Linked DNA regions of Homo sapiens: all the other regions are linked to region 3. The links are contacts of gene promoters, found by promoter capture Hi-C in blood cells and fetal thymus (Javierre and others, 2016). All regions are on one chromosome and are shown on one strand. Each heading gives the region's core, a stretch centred on a gene start or on the middle of the fragment in contact. The rest is flanking DNA. Distances are from core to core; before and after follow the strand shown. Region 1 overlaps CIBAR1-DT (CIBAR1 divergent transcript). Region 2 overlaps CIBAR1-DT (CIBAR1 divergent transcript). Region 3 holds the start of RUNX1T1 (RUNX1 partner transcriptional co-repressor 1).

Region 1 (2,700 bases), core at 12-2,511, 1.5 Mb after region 3:
CTGTTGCTATTTTTTTGGTTTGTTTTTTAAAAGAATGAAGCCCAGGCTGGGCATGGTGGCTCCACGCCTGTAAACCCAGCACTTTGAGAGGTTGAGGCAGGCGGATCACCTGAGGTAAGAAGTTCAAGACCAGCCTGGTCAACACGGTAAAACCCCGTCTCTACTAAAAATACAAAAATTAGCTAGGTATGGTAGTGCTCTCCTGTAGTCCTAGCTACTGGGAAGGGTGAAGCAGGAGAATAGTTCGAACCCGGAAGGCAGACGCTGCAGTGAGCTGAGAATATGCCACTGCACTCCAGCCTGGGCAACAGAGTGAAACTCCATCTCAAAAAAAAAAAAAAAAAAAAGAATGGAACCCAAAATTGCCTCTTTCCACAATCACTTACCTTACATTGGATGAAACCATTCTTTTTTTTTTTTTTTTTAAGAATCCTTAACCAGAAGCCAAGTCAGAGGTGTAAACCATTGTCTTTGGTCAGGTGCAGGTATGGTGGCTCATGCCTGTAATCCCACCACTTTGGAAGGCCAAGGCAGGAGGGTCACTTGAGGCCAGGAGTTCAAGACCAGCCTGGGCAATATAGCAAGACCCTGTTTCTACTTTTTAAAAAAAGAAACAAAAAGTCATTATAAAAAAAAAAAAACTATTGTATTTTAGGTGCATACCTTCCTCCAGCATGCAGGCTTGACCTTGCCAGGCTCCTCCACACTGGAGGGTCTCACTTCCATGGGTTTCCAAGTTCTCACCTACTCTAATGACTCCTCAGCTTAGCCCTCCTTTCCCCTGCTATCCCTTGGGGCTGGTGCCTACGGTTTTTACTTCGTTTGTCCCTGTGCCCCTAACGCCTTGTTCCAGTCGTAGAAGAAGGCCTTAATGTACTTTCCCAATGATCGATCCTGAAAATCACACCCAGGTATCAATCAGTTTTTGCTTACTTCATAACTGACCTCATCCACATGTACCCATGGCAAAGGCACCATATGTTAGTTCTTATGTTGGACTAAATAAAGAAAAGAAATTTAGAAAGAGTTTCACACATCATCTGGGTAATCATCCTGTATTTATAAGAGAGCAGATTAATGTCCCTGCATTAATATATGACTCAAATGCGGCTATGAGGGCTGAGCATGATTATCTGAGCTTGTTACTTAACCCACTCAATTTTTTTAAAAATTCTGCAATCTGATGTGGCAGAACAGACTCCAAATGTTCTTGAACTTCAGCAAGGAGCAAAGCTACCTAAATGTGGGAGTAGGGAATGGTCGGCTGATCTGCAAGCACAGCCGCAAGAGCCCTAAAGAGAGGGTCGTTTTGTCGTGGGGCTTGGCTTTCCATCTGGCTTCTTTCTTCAAACCTAAATCCAGGAAAGCCTTTACTTTGAAATCTGTCTCTGCTCCAGTCTGACACCAGGCTTGCCCTCTTGCCCTAAGAGGCCTTAAGCCACCAGCCTGGGCATTGGTAGGACTTCATTCTGGTTTCCAGGTTCACCCTGGCATTGGCCGATAAATGGGTTTCCCAGATGAATGGGTTTCTGCGTTGTAACCTGTGGCAGTATCTGCCCAAGAGGTAAGTCCCAGCCCCCAAACCCACTGGCTGGAGTAGAATTTTTACCTTCAAACTCCAGGCTTCATCTGACCTGACAGCTAGACCCCCACACAGGATCTCTTGCATTGTACAACTTCAGGGGGCACCATTCACTGTGTGCTCTATCTGGGCAACTCTGTGGCAACGAAGTTGTCTTTCTGGAAACCTGGAATTCATCTATGCTGTCCCTGCTTGTGCATGATAAATCTTGAATATAGTTTGAGCTTTTTAATGATACTTTACCCCTCACTTTCCTCCTTTATAGACAATACTGCCTGTTATAGGCCTAAAGTGCTCAATCCTTCAGTCATAGCTTCAGAACCTTTTTCACATCATGGCACACATGAAAAATAATTTTTGTCCTTGCTGGCACAGGCACTGTAGCTCACTCCTATAATCCCAGCACTTTGGGAGGCCAAAGCAAGAGGATCGCTTAAGGCCAGGAGTTTGAGGCCAGCCTGGGCAACACAGCAAGACCCTGTCTCTATATACAATTTTTTAAAATTAGCCAGGCATGGTGAAGTGAGCCTGTTGTCCCAGCTACTGAGGAGGCTGAGACGAGAGGATCGCTTAAGTCCAGGCATTGAAGGTTACAGTGAACTGTGATTGCACCACTGCACTCCAGCCTGGGCAACAGAATGAAACTTTCATCTCTTTAAAAAAAAAAAAAATTGTCCTTGATGATATAGCTGTTACCAGTCAGAGGCAACTGGTCCAGGGAGGCACCTCCAGCTGGCTTGGGCCCTTCTTCAGCCACCCTTGGGCTGAGGGTGCCACTATTTTGTCACATTGTAACCCATCCACAGCCTGTCTGCATACTCAGTCTTTGGATAGCCCTGCCTTAAGGCGCTTGGCTGGCCGCCAGCCTGGGTCCATTGTTCTAATTGTATGTCTTTGGGTCAGCCTGCATTTTAAGGCCTTCCTATTCTTTAGGTTTGATTTTCTCTGTAAAGTAATAATGTTTCTATATGATATATCAACTCAGAGAAAAGCATGAGGGGTACTGGTAGGAAATTTTGAATTTTTTTCCAACCTAAATTGGCCAGTGAAAAAGCTTTCCAATTCAAAAGAATGAGAATCTCAGAGATAAGGCAGAAGACTTGAAAAATAAATCTCTC
Region 2 (2,904 bases), core at 163-2,662, 1.2 Mb after region 3:
TGGGAGAAATCTGGGATAGATGGTCAGTCTTTGAGGAGCTGAATTAGGGCAGGTTATCCCATCTAAGGCAACTCTGACTGAAAGACCCAAAACGTGAGTCTAAGCCAGTATTTGTACAGATTACTAATGGTCCAAGCCAGGAAAACTTAGTAGCAATGCCAAGTTCAAAGGGAGGGAGTCAGTTGCAAATGGGAAATGAAACCAGAGATCAGGATCTGGGAGAAAATAGGAGCAGAGCAGAATCAGATCAGGAAGGAAGCAAGATGATTCTAGGCCATTGTTCTCTCACTGGCGTGCTTTTGACTTACCTGGTTATTTTAGTTATTTGGTTATTAGATCCAGTGATGGACATCGGCACTGGCTAAAAGATTCAGAATTGGAGCCAATACTCCCCTCTTCAAAAAACTTTTGGCTCTCACTTTATCTATTATTACTACTATTATGTTTATATAACAATAATGTATTATTAATAATTTTTACTTTTTTAAGTAATAGGCCTTTTTTTTTTTTTTCCGAGATGGAGTCTCACTCTGTTGCCCATGCTGGAGTGCAGTGGTGCAATCTCGGTTCACTGAAACCTCCACCTCCCGGGTTCAAACGATTCATGCCTCAGCCTCCTGGGTAGCTGGGATTACAGGCATGAGCCACCATGCCCAGCTAATTTTTTTGTATTTTTAGTAAAGACAAGGTTTCACCAGATTGGCCAGGCTGGTCTCAAACTCCTGGCCTCAAGTGATCTGCCTGCCTAAGCTTCCCAAATGCTGGGATTACAGGCATGAGCCACTGAGCCTGGGCAATGGGCACTTATTTACCACCCACTGAGAGTTTAACAGAGAAAAAAATATTTAAATCTGGTTATCTCTGATCCTGAAGACCAAACTTCTTTCCTAGTTAAAAAAAAAATTCAGGGAAGGGTGAGGGTAAACAAGATACTATGATAAGCCCAAGCTAACCTAAACTTTTTCTTCTGACATTCTTTTACTTTTCAAACTCTGTATTTTCAAACAGCGGAAGGAGAACCTTAGGCACACCAAAAGCATTCATAAAGCAATGTTCTGTACCCAGTCCTGTACTAAGTGTTGCAGAAGTCACAAAAATTATAAAATTCGGTCGCCTCCCTCAAGGTTTTTACAATGTCAGTAGAGAGATAGAAGACCTATATGTGAAAGATGTGCAAAATGTAGGTGAGTCTTAACTAGATTTTGCTAGGTAACAAAACCACCCAAAACTTTATGGCTTAAAATAATCATGTATTCAATTATGATTCTGTGGTTGGCAGTTTGGGTTGGGCTCAGCTTAGACATCTCATCCTTACCCTACATAGTGTCTACTGAGCTCACTCCTATATCTGGTGCCTCAGCTGGGACAGCTAGCAAGTCTGGGGTGGCTGGATCTTTCTCCTCATTGGAAGAAGTGGGCTGGCTTATTCACAGAGTGGACAAGGGCAGAGGCTGCAAGGCCTCTAGTGGCTTAGGTTCACAGCTTGAGTATCATCACTTCTGCCACATTCTGTTGGTCAAACCAAGTCATGAGGCAGCTATAATTCAAAAAATGGAGAAACCTACACCCGCCTTTTAATGGGTCAAGCTGTAAAGAATATGTGGTCATATTTAATCTACTACGGTCACCCATTAGCTATAATTATTTCTATTTCTCCCATATGCCAGGTGAATTCACCCCATCCCAAGACCGCCCAAAAGTCTCATCCAATTGTATCATCAAACTGAAAGTCCAGGATCTCAGGAAGTGCATTTGGTCCAGGTGTGGATGAGGACCTTCTATTACAGCTCCTTGCATGTGGCTCCTCTTAATCCAGAAATCTATGAACCAAACAGACAAGTTTGTCTCCATCCTCTCCCATACCCAACATACAATGGTGAGATGGCAAGAGGATAATCATAATAGACACCCCATTCAAAAAGGAGAAATGGGGAGCACATAGGAGCCATAGGTCCACAGCAATTCAGGAATACAGTCATGTGCATATGACCATCAGAAATAGCCCTTGTTTACAGATGAATAGCTTTCCTCATCCTAACTCCTGCCCTAAGAAATTCTGTCTTAGTCTCTTAATGCAAGCTTATATAGCCCCCTTTAATACCTTGTGGGTTTTCTATGTATCAGGGAGTCATCCATTTCAATAGACAAAGGAAACACACACAATTCTTTTTAATGCAGCATTCTTTCTTCTTCAGGCAGTATATCACAATGTTGTGAGTTAATGCCCTCAAGATCTTTAGAAGTTATTTTGTTGAGTTGATATAATATACTAGGAACAACCACAAATCCTTCTGAGGTCTTTGCAAGAGTCTTAAAGTCACTCCCTTAATTAGATTTTAGAAGAATCTTTTGCAAACTGGAGAGACTGAAATGAAAAACAAGTTTATTTTCTAATTTAGAAGGTCCTGAGCCCTCTATCTTGTTTCTACTTTCTGTTTGCAAATGAAACAGTTCTTTATTTAGTTCATCTCCTTCGGCCTATACATTATTAACAATATGCCTGGAAATTTTCTTAACTAGATCCACAAGTTTATTAGATAAATGTTCTATCTTCCAAGTGACCACATGCAATATTTTTCCAATTGTTTTGCTCCAAAACCAGTGCCACATGTTTTAGGTTTCTGTTATAGCAGCATCCCCCTTCTAAGTACCAATTTCTGTTTTAGTTAGCTTTTGCTGCCCAACAAACTACATCAAAAATTAGTGGCTTAAACACTTATTTCCTCATAGTTCTATGGGTCAACAATTTGTATTGGGCCCAACCACACACTGACTTGGCTTCTCTGGTTATAATCATTGCCAAATATGCAACCAGTCAGCAAAAAGACCAACACTGAGTCCCTGATATGGCGCATTTCCTGGGAAATCTGCCAGGTTGATTACATTAGTCCATGTCCATGTCAC
Region 3 (2,700 bases), core at 179-2,678:
GTTTCTGGAAAACGAAAGGAATTATCCGGACGTGGCTCCAAGTCTGGACCCCTTCGGGCGGGAGCTACAGGGCACAAGGTTGTGCTCCCCACTCAGAAGAAGCGGGCACCGAGTCGGGGCCGCGACGGGAACACCCAGGAGGGCCGGGGCGGCTGAGTCCAGAGCGCGCAGAGGTCGGGCGGGGACGACTCTCCCCATCGGCCCCTGACTGCGAAGCCCGGGACCAGCCTCGGGCGGGAGCCGCCGTCCGCCCGCTCACCCAGGAGCTTCCCAGTCCAGCACCCCAAACGGCCAGGAGTAACAAGGAAAGTTCGCAGGCAGGCGCAGAGCGCCTGGGTACCTCTAAGCAAACCCCCACCCTAGTTGCAGCCGGGTCCCAAAGTTAAGATCCCGCCTCTTTACTCCTTAGGGCTAAGTTTTCCACCATCAAAACAAGTCTTTGCTTCCAGTTTACAGAAAAAGAAAAGAAAAAAAAAAAAAAGAAAGGAAAAGAAAAAAACCCACGATGCGGGCATAGGGCCACCTGCCAAATGCACTGTGGGCACCTCGATCGGTTGTTTTGTCGGGGGAGAAACCCACTCGTCATCTTCCTGCTCGCATACCGTGACTATGGAGAGGGAAGAAAAATTATTTTTAAAAGACACTGTGGGGAATATAATAGTAAAAACTGCATCCTCGGCTGACCCGCGAAGTTCAGTGTCATCGCAGACCGGAGTCACCCGCGATGTTCCTCTTTGCCCTGGTGCGTAGTCCTACCCTAATTGAGCGACAAGTACAGCCTGGAGCCTCGCGGTCGAATAATCCAAACGAAGATGACGGTCATCGGAACAGTAATTAATAACAGTCAGGGGCCCGACCCCGCCGCCCGCCCGCCGGCCAAGCCCTACCGCGGACACTTACACTGCACAGGGCCGGAGAGTCCCACCATCCGCCACAGGCTCCGAGCTGCAAATAAAACTTCCCGTCGTCTCGGCCGGCCCGCGGGGCGACGGGGCGAGGACGCGGCGCGGCTTCCCTCGCGAGGCCAGAGTGTCCGCGGCCACTCGCCCACGCGCGCTCGCCACGAGACCGCGGAGTCGCGCCGCGGAGCGACTACGGCCGCCCGGCGCTGCGCAGAGAGAGCTGCCGTGCAAAAAGCCCGGGGTCGGGGACGCCAGCCAAACGCAACCTCCACGCAGAGCCCAAGACTTGCGGAGCTCTGCTCCCCTCCTCCCGCCTCCCTCCCTCCCTCCGCTTTTCTGTTGTTGCTGCTGTGGCAGACAAATGTGATGTGGGGCGCAGGGAATTGCCACTGTCACAGGCGGCGTCTGCGTCTCCCTCGCCCGCCCTCGCTCACTCTCGAGGAAGGCGACGCATTTATCTGCAGGGCGGCCGGGCGTCCGCCGGGGAGCAGGAGCGCCGCGCGCTGTGCGCCGAGAGCGCCCGCATCAGGCCGGCTCCGGCGCACGCTCGCGCCAGGGGCGCCGCGGCCGGTCGGGAGGGAGGCGGCTGCGCGGCCGCTACCAGGTGCAGGGGGGAGGACCCGCGGCGGGGCGTGGGGGAGGTGGAGGTGGGAGACATCTGTGTTGTGCGGGGGTCACGGAGGTCAAGTATATGTTAACAATGGGCAGGCCCGGCACGCTAGGGCGCGCGGGCTGGCGGGCGGCCTCCCTCCCGGCCTCGCCCTCTCCCATGCAGGCTGGACGTGGGGTTGGCTCCCTAATGATGCCTTCCCGGGCCGCCAGCTCTCAGGCGGCCCGAGTGCCCTGCAGTAACCCAAGACGACCACTTTCCCCGGCCATCTGGAGCGCTCCCGGCTGCCCTGCCTGTGTCTCATCACTGGCTGAAGAGACAGCTCTGCTAGAAATCAAGCCACTCTCAGATCTCCTCTCTAATCCCCTTCTGTTAGCTGATTTCCAGACTGACTATTTGCTTTCGCATTAGATAATAGCCTTAGAGAAAACAATTATCATTTTCTTTTATTCTCTTTGTTTTTCTACTTCTCCCATAGTATACCATTAAGAGGGACGGCTTTCTATCTCAGGTTTTTGTTAGATGTGTCCCCCTCCCCCAGACATTAATATCAATACTTGGGGGCAGTGTGGGGGGTAGTCCCGGAGGAAAAGATAGGGTGAAAGAATTCCAGATATTTCCAGAGTAAATAAATAATCTCGGTGAAGAGGACTGACAATTTGTACAGAGCCAAAAAGGGCTTGAATAATAATGAAAATATTAATATGTAGGTCAAATATGATCAGATAATGGCTTGCAATGATAAGTAAAATGAAATCTTTTAAAATTACTATGGAACGGTACCCTGACTGCAAATGTTATTGTATTTAGTGGAACTATTTGAAATCCTACTCTGAACCATGTTTTCTCCAACTAGCCTAAATCAATGTAAGATGTCCTGAATACGTGTTTTAAAATCTCATTTTTACAAAGGAAAAAAGGCATCAGATAGAGTCTGAGTCGGTCTGATGCAGTTGAGAACTGATGAGACATTTGTGGGTTTTATTTTCTGAAGTGGTGTTTCAAATATTTAATAGTGAGTAAAATCCCTTCCCCCATCCTTTTAAACCCAGCTGGAGCTTCCAATTCTGAAGTCTTTTCAGACTCTACTAATTTTTAGCAATTCATTTCCAGAAAACACTCATTGTACATTCTCCCCTCTCCTTGGGACATTTGTCTAATGAATTATAATAGATTAATGAATTGCAA

The links. The method cuts DNA at HindIII sites, captures the fragments that hold promoters and counts their contacts. A CHiCAGO score of 5 or more calls a contact.
Region 1: a contact is called between a fragment that was not itself captured here and the fragment with the promoter of RUNX1T1 in region 3, in 1 of 17 cell types (erythroblasts). The highest score is 7.3, in erythroblasts.
Region 2: a fragment that was not itself captured here is called in contact with the fragment with the promoter of RUNX1T1 in region 3 in 1 of 17 cell types (M0 macrophages); the score reaches 5.3 in M0 macrophages.

What each region holds. Positions count from the first base shown.
Region 1 is chr8:93,589,903-93,592,602 of GRCh38, forward strand. The region is part of intron 5 of CIBAR1-DT (CIBAR1 divergent transcript); the gene reads right to left. Among named protein-coding and RNA genes, the nearest start is that of CIBAR1-DT, 110 kb to the right of the region's middle. The HindIII fragment of the contact is 2,746 bases long and covers 1-2,634 here.
Region 2 is chr8:93,348,845-93,351,748 of GRCh38, forward strand. All of the region lies in intron 10 of CIBAR1-DT (CIBAR1 divergent transcript), which reads right to left. Among named protein-coding and RNA genes, the nearest start is that of LINC02906, 180 kb to the left of the region's middle. The HindIII fragment of the contact is 1,329 bases long and covers 749-2,077 here.
Region 3 is chr8:92,101,957-92,104,656 of GRCh38, forward strand. RUNX1T1 (RUNX1 partner transcriptional co-repressor 1) reads right to left here and starts at 1,429. Exons shown (of 12, transcript NM_175634.3): 1 at 901-1,429. The HindIII fragment of the contact is 6,982 bases long and covers 1-2,700 here.